Regions from separate parts of the Homo sapiens genome. Here region 2 is linked to region 1. The links are contacts of gene promoters, found by promoter capture Hi-C in human tissues and cell types (Jung and others, 2019). All regions are on one chromosome and are shown on one strand. The core of a region is centred on a gene start or on the middle of the fragment in contact, and the rest is flanking DNA. Distances in the headings are between cores, read along the strand shown. Region 1 holds the start of UBE2C (ubiquitin conjugating enzyme E2 C). Region 2 overlaps KCNS1 (potassium voltage-gated channel modifier subfamily S member 1).

Region 1 (3,321 bases), core at 319-2,818:
ATGAGATATAGATGGGGTTATGCCATCTCTACTAAAAAATATATATTTACATATATATATATATAGAGAGAGAGAGAGAGAGATTGAGAGAGAGAGATAGACAGAGACAGACACACACACACACTCTGTCGCCCAGGCTAGAGTGCAGTGGTGCGCTCGGCTCACCGCAACCTCTGTCTCCACGGTTCAAATGATTCTTGTGCCTCAGCCTCCCGAGTAGCTGAAATTACAGGCATGCACCACCATGCCTGGATAATTTTTGTATTTTTAGTAGAGACAGGGTTTTGCAATGTTGGCCAGGCTGGTCTCGAACTCCTGACCTCAAGTGATCCGCCCACCTTAGCCCCCCAAAGTGTTGGGATTATAAGGTGTGAGCTACCGCGCCCAGCCTCCCCTTAATCTCATCACTCTGATCCAAAATAAAGCAACCAAATTCATAGGCTAGAAATACCAAGAAGGGCGGGGAGTTGGGTGTGGGTAAAGCTTGGTTGGGGCTAGGAAGTAGGGACACACTGGATAGGGAGGGTCTTGTATGACTTCAGGGAAGTGTTCGAGATAACTTCGTGTGGGGGGATGGAATTGGGAGGAGGGACTGCTGGAAGAAATGGTGTAGGTGGGGTGTATGAACTTCTTTCCCAGGAGGGAGCAAATTACATTACCCCTATGTCTAGCAAAAAAGCTGACGGAAAAAAGGAGGCTACTGAAAATTGGATGGAAGGCTGGGGTTCTGGGCACTTAATCACTCACCATGAGGGTCATCAGCTCCTGCTGTAGCCTGAAAAAAGAGTATTCGGGGTTACCTGGGAGTCTGGATGGGCCAGGCCTCCAGACGGTGCATCTTCTCCCACCTGAATCTCAGGGGGAGCCGTCATGGAGGCTCCCCACATCACCAAGGTCAGGCTCAGCTCAGGGTATACTCACCAGATCCACAGGACGATCCTAGCGAGTCCTCACCCTCCCTAATTCCAGACTCCCTCGGGATGATTCTGGCATGTTCTTAATTCCCCAGGCTTTAGCATCTCTTCCTTGCCCGACTCAACTTCTCCCTTCCCCTGTCTCGGCCAAGTCACGAGGGTCCTTGAGCGTCTTCATCTAGGCCCACCAGGGAAGGAGTCTGGCAGCGCCCCTACCCTCCCATTCTCCTTCGGGAGAGTCTCAAAGAGCGGTCTGAGCTCCTGGCCTGTCCCCCATCTCTCGAATCTCACCCGCGCAAGGAGGTGGGAGTCCCGGAAGTCTCCGCCCTCGACACCCATGCCCAGGGGAATGCCAGGCCCCGAGCTCCTGGTGTGTTCTCCTGCACCCGCAGATCTCCCGCTCCAGGAGGTGGCGGCGGGGGGTGGTCCTAGAAATCTTTGCTCTGGGTACCAATGCCTAGGGCATGGCAGGCCCGGCGAGTGGTAGGCCGCATCACTCACCTTTTGCCCACCGGACCCCGGGCGGCGCCCCCGCTCGGCTCAGCTCCTTTACGGGCGGCGGCGACGCTAGTGGCGGCTGGGTCGCGGTTTTGGGAAGCCATCCGGGCGGCGTTGGCAGAGAGACAGGAACTCGGAGAACACGACTGCAACTGCAGGACTGCGGGCCCGCCCGCCCGCGTTTGAATTGTAACCCTCTGGGGGCGTCGACCAATCAATGGCTCGCTTGGGTTTGATCCAGCCAATGAGACGCTCCGGAGCGCTCTATTGCTGCGCCACTGCTAGACCTACCCACTGGCGCACCGCTATTGGGCGGCAGAATCCCGCTTCTGACAACCGATTGGTAGATGATGCTGCCATTAACTAACGAATCCGTAGCGAATTGGTGGCCGTTGGAAAACGCTAACCATTAAAGGGCCAAGAAAACGTCCACGTGGGATGAACCCCTCCTTCTGGCTACACGTCTTACTCCGCGTGGGAACACTCGGCACGCCCAGCCTTGATCCAATTTCCCTCGGGCAGGGAGTGCCTCCAATCCTGCAGCACTGGTACCCTCCCACCATTATAATCGCCTGGGCACCTTTGCTGCGTCCTAAGTATCTGAAAATCCCAGCGAGGGGAAAAACTAAAGGCTGATGGCCAGAGCAGCAGGCTCCCTATTAGAAAACATAGGTCCATACATCTCCGCAGAGATGACAGAAATAAAAAAAGGCAACATTGGTTCAGGCTGGTCGCAGTGGCTCACGTCCGTAATCCCGAACACTTTGGAAGGCCCAGGCAGGAGGATCACTTGAACCCAGGAGTTCGAGACCAGCCTGAGCAACAGGATAGGGAGACCTGTCTCTACTTAAAAGAAAAAAAAAAAAAAAGAAAAGAAAAAAAAAAAAGGCTGGTGAGGTGGCACGAGCCTGTAGTCCCAGCTACTGGCGAGGCTGAGGCGGGAGAATCGCTTGAGCCAGAGGCTGCACTCTAGCCTGGGCAACAGAGCAAGACTGTCTTCAAACAAACAAAAACCCCAACAACACAGGTTCATATCCTGTATATCCTACCTCCCCAGTGGGTAGTGTGTAACCTTGGGGCGGGTCCTTTAGTATCTTAACCTGTAAAATGGGAGCAATAAAAGCCAACTCTATTTTTCATATGATCTGTCATCAAACTCCATCGCATTCTGCCATGTCCTTACATTAGCTGGGTAAGGAAACTACAAATGGGCAAAGGGAAGACGGGCAGGGTACATGGTGCTCCCAGGTTGGTCTTATCAAGCCTGGCTCTATACTGTTATGGGTGAGGGTTATCTCGTCCTTTTTTCCTACACCCACTTCTAGAGCCCTTGATGTTCTGTCAATTCCCACAAGGTAGAGGGCACAGCAGGTTCACCATCTGTGTTTACTACAAACTGTTTAATTGTTTCTTATCCCAATAACTTTACAAATATAGAACCACATGCTAGTCTGGGGGTGCTGTGCAGTGAGTCACTACAAACTCGCTCAGGCACAGCTTAATGCCGCTGAGATCCATCTAGGAGCAGTCCCAGCGGTGGCCTCAGCCACGTGAGGAAGAGGGCTTTGGAGGAGGGCTGCCAAGTGTGGCCAGGGGACCCGGCCTCAGGTCTGTGGAGGTGCTTCAACAGCACGATGCTCATTCTCTGTCCGTAGTGTCTCCATATACTTTCTCATCTTCTCCACCATCCAGGAGGGTAGGACAAAGGATTTCAATTCCTCTAGCTTCAGATCCAGGCATCCTCTGGAACAGACATTGAAGAGAGAAGTTGGGGGAAGTGAGGATGTAGGCCCTGCCTCATTCTAGGGGCTATTTGGAGGCAGGGAGAGGAGAAGGGGCAGGAGACCCACTGGTTTTACCTGTAATCATCACTGGCCGCAAGGTCCCGGATGTCCTCCTCGATGAGGAG
Region 2 (3,449 bases), core at 702-3,201, 720 kb after region 1:
TCTTGGTTCTGCAACAGTGTAAAAATCACAAGCTCTTCATTCCCTGGCTGTGGTGCCACCAGTAACCCCGGAGTTGGAAAAAACAGCTGTAGCCTAGCAGATACCTTGGACAATAGAACTTAGGCCTGTGCGCAATACCAGGGGGTTTTGCTGCCAACTGTAGTTGAAAGGTCTTAGTTTAAAGTCAGGGGACCTGGGCCTTAGCACCAGCTCTATCTTGCTGACTTTGGACCTGTCCTTTATACTCTCTGGGCCTCAGTTTCCCCATATGCCTAATACCAGGACTGTAAGCCCATCCACTCTGACTTGGCTTTCTACATTCTCTTTCAGCACAGCTACCGTGAGGTGGGCATCTTGCTGCTGTACCTGGCTGTGGGTGTGTCAGTGTTCTCTGGTGTGGCCTACACAGCTGAAAAGGAGGAGGACGTGGGCTTTAACACCATCCCAGCCTGCTGGTGGTGGGGCACAGTGAGCATGACCACCGTGGGCTATGGGGATGTGGTGCCAGTGACGGTGGCTGGCAAGCTGGCAGCCTCAGGCTGCATCCTAGGGGGCATCCTGGTGGTAGCACTCCCCATCACCATCATCTTCAACAAGTTCTCCCACTTCTACCGGCGCCAGAAGGCTCTGGAGGCAGCCGTGCGCAACAGCAACCACCAAGAGTTTGAGGACTTGCTGAGCAGCATTGATGGGGTGTCGGAGGCATCTCTGGAGACATCCCGAGAAACCTCTCAGGAGGGACAGTCTGCAGATCTAGAGAGCCAGGCCCCCAGTGAGCCTCCACACCCTCAGATGTATTAAAACCAGGGATCCGTGACCCCCTGCCATGCCCCTACAGTAGAGATTCCTCCCCTGCTAAAGTTCTTCATGGTAGTGAGCCTCCCAGGATCACTCATGCTGTCCTGAGAAATGAGATTCAAAAGCTGCATTCCTTCCTCCAAAGGCCCAGGACAGGACAGTGCTACCCTAGATTCTGTGAGATTCTGCAAGCAACTCAGAAAGCTTTATAAACCTGCCTCCAAGCCATTCATGAAGCAGGCATGAGCCAGAGGGAGGAAGTTGAAAGGATACTAATGATTCCTGAGCACCTCCTGTACATGAACCAGGTCATGTTTGGCCTTGTGTTGGAGAAAGAGAATTATCCCCACTTCACAGATGAGGAAACCAAGGCTAAGAGATGAGCGATGCCTCTCCCAGATGTCACAATTAGAAGTGGCAGAGTCAGGTTTGGAATCTGGGCTTGTTGGTGTGCCTGGAGCAATGCTCCATCAACTCCATCTTTCTTCTGCCCTCATGAAGTTTGCGTGTGTTTTTTGGTGATTCATGGATCCCCAGAGTTGATCCACAAGATAAGAAATCCCTTTCAGAGCCAGGGAAGGGTCCAGACAGGAGATTTGGATATAGGAGCTCTGGATCTCAGCTGTGGTTCCTTTCTAGGAGCATCCAACAGGAGTCAGCAATCAAAGATGAGTCCTGGAGGGAAGGAGGATGAGTCCTGGGAGGAAGTACCATAGCATTGTACTTGCCTCTTTAGCTGGTATGCAAGATTTGCTAAGCAATAATCTTCCGACCTTCCTCCCAGGGCTGATGTGAGAGAAAGAAAATCTGAAGGGCCCCTGGCCTGAGATCTAGACAACCTAGCTGCGCCAAGACCTGCTGTGTAAAGTGGTCCAATCCCTGCCCCCAAGTCCAGATTCCAGCCCCTCTGTCAAATGGTCAGAATCTGTGACCCAGAGGGCAATGAAAGCCAAGGAGAGCAGAGGGGTCTCTAACTTAAAGCCAGCTCAGCTCTGAAATGTTCAGAGGGCTGACATATATGAATACTGGCTTCTAAGACCCTCCCCCAACAGTCTGACCTTGGCAGTTCCTTTCTGCCCATCACACAGACGTCCAGCCCTACATTGTCCAGCCCTACCTAGAGTACCCATCCAGGCCCATGTGTGAGAGTCCTCTCCCTTCTGGCCAGCTCCAGCCCCCTCACCCTTGCTGGGGGCATATCTCTCATACCCACCTGCTGAATCTTCTCTTCACTTGCTGAGAAAGTCAGAGGAGGGGATCCAGTAGCCCTTTCCACATACTGTGGCTACAGCACCCAGCACTGTGCTGTTGTTGTCTGACTGTGGCTATCTCTGTCCCATCACCCTGAGCCTCAAGATGGAAGACATTGTCTGCTTGAACTCTGGGCTTGGTGCAGAGTAGGTATTTGGTAAATGTTGAATAGATCAACCAATTCCTACAGCCCACTGGGTGCCAAGCTCAGAGGGGGAAAAAAAGATAGCCAGAGAGAGACCTGGCCCTCAAAAAGGTGTGAACAAGACTGAAAAGGAGGTCCGTTCAGCTCCGCCTGCCCTGTCCCTGCTTGGTTCTTGAAGTTTTTACAATATATTCCTTGTAGGTTCTTCACTCACTCACTCAACAAATACCCGTTGGAAGAGTCTTAAACTGGGGCTTCATGTGTGGCCTGCAGTCATGTTTCGGCTTAGTCCAACAGTGTTTTTATTATATTTTAAGAATCTGAATGCCTTTGCGTGAGGCATGCACTCTCAGGTTCCCCATAGTGTCTCCCCCGCTGCCACCCACAAACAGACACACATGCCGTTGTGTTATGCCCAGCCACTCTGATATACTGGCTTCTGACTTATGGGCTGCTTACTAGTCTCAAGAGATACAGTGGTGGAAAAATATATCCCTATACTCATGAAGCTTACCGACTAGTAGGGAAGATAGACTCTAATGCAATAATCACATAAATATAGCGAGCTCTACTAAGTACAGGTGTGTATAATGTATCAGGGACCATGGCCCGAGAAAGTGAGAAGGCTTTCCTGAGCAAGTGACAATCTAACCTGCCATCCAAATGATAAATTGCTAATTAAGCAAATGAGGTTCCAGGGGGGAGTACTCCAAGCAGAGAGAATGGCATGTGTGAAGGTGTGTGTCATACACAGGGCCTAGTACATAGTGGGCCCCCTACATACGCATGGATTCTGGGTCTCCAGATTGGAACAGAGGATGGAGCTAAGCAGCAAAGGGCCTCCCTTGAATTCACCACACACATACCAGCCCTTCTGCACACTCTGCTCCTTACATCTAGGCCCAGCTGAACCCAGGTTAGGGGCAGATCAGAAGGGCTGCGTGTAGCACCCTTATGGTCTTGCAGAACACACCAAGAAACCCGACGGCTTCCATATTTTCTGACCCTACAAACAGGTCCCTAATACTGATGTGGAGAAAGCTCAAGAGGGAATCATCTGGCCTGAGCCTACCATGAGGCTGTTTGTGGTCCTGGCAGAAAAGCAACAACTCGCTCCCCTTCCCATGTATCAGTGAAAACCATTATGCAAATAAAGAGCTGGGCCCCAGGACGTGTTTCTGCTTGTATGGAGATGGCTCCCTGACATGCTGTCTGAGTGATTGGAGAGGGTGGGCAATATGTGGAATGACTTGGA

The links. Contacts are between HindIII fragments. The study calls those that stand out against the background at their distance.
Region 2: a contact is called between a fragment that was not itself captured here and the fragment with the promoter of UBE2C in region 1, in 3 of the 25 tissues and cell types used here (dorsolateral prefrontal cortex, liver and thymus).

The regions. Positions count from the first base shown.
Region 1 is chr20:45,810,891-45,814,211 of GRCh38, reverse strand. It overlaps UBE2C (ubiquitin conjugating enzyme E2 C), which reads right to left and starts at 1,568. Exons shown (of 6, transcript NM_007019.4): 1 at 1,416-1,568; 2 at 748-775. The coding sequence starts at 1,516. DNTTIP1 (deoxynucleotidyltransferase terminal interacting protein 1) reads right to left here. Exons shown (of 13, transcript NM_052951.3): 12 at 3,272-3,321; 13 at 2,794-3,155. The coding sequence ends at 3,017. RefSeq lists a silencer at 1,576-1,765. The HindIII fragment of the contact is 8,392 bases long and covers 1-3,321 here.
Region 2 is chr20:45,092,222-45,095,670 of GRCh38, reverse strand. It overlaps KCNS1 (potassium voltage-gated channel modifier subfamily S member 1), which reads left to right. Exons shown (of 4, transcript NM_001322799.2): 4 at 331-3,449. The coding sequence ends at 801. Among named protein-coding and RNA genes, the nearest start is that of KCNS1, 7.2 kb to the left of the region's middle. The HindIII fragment of the contact is 5,760 bases long and covers 1-3,449 here.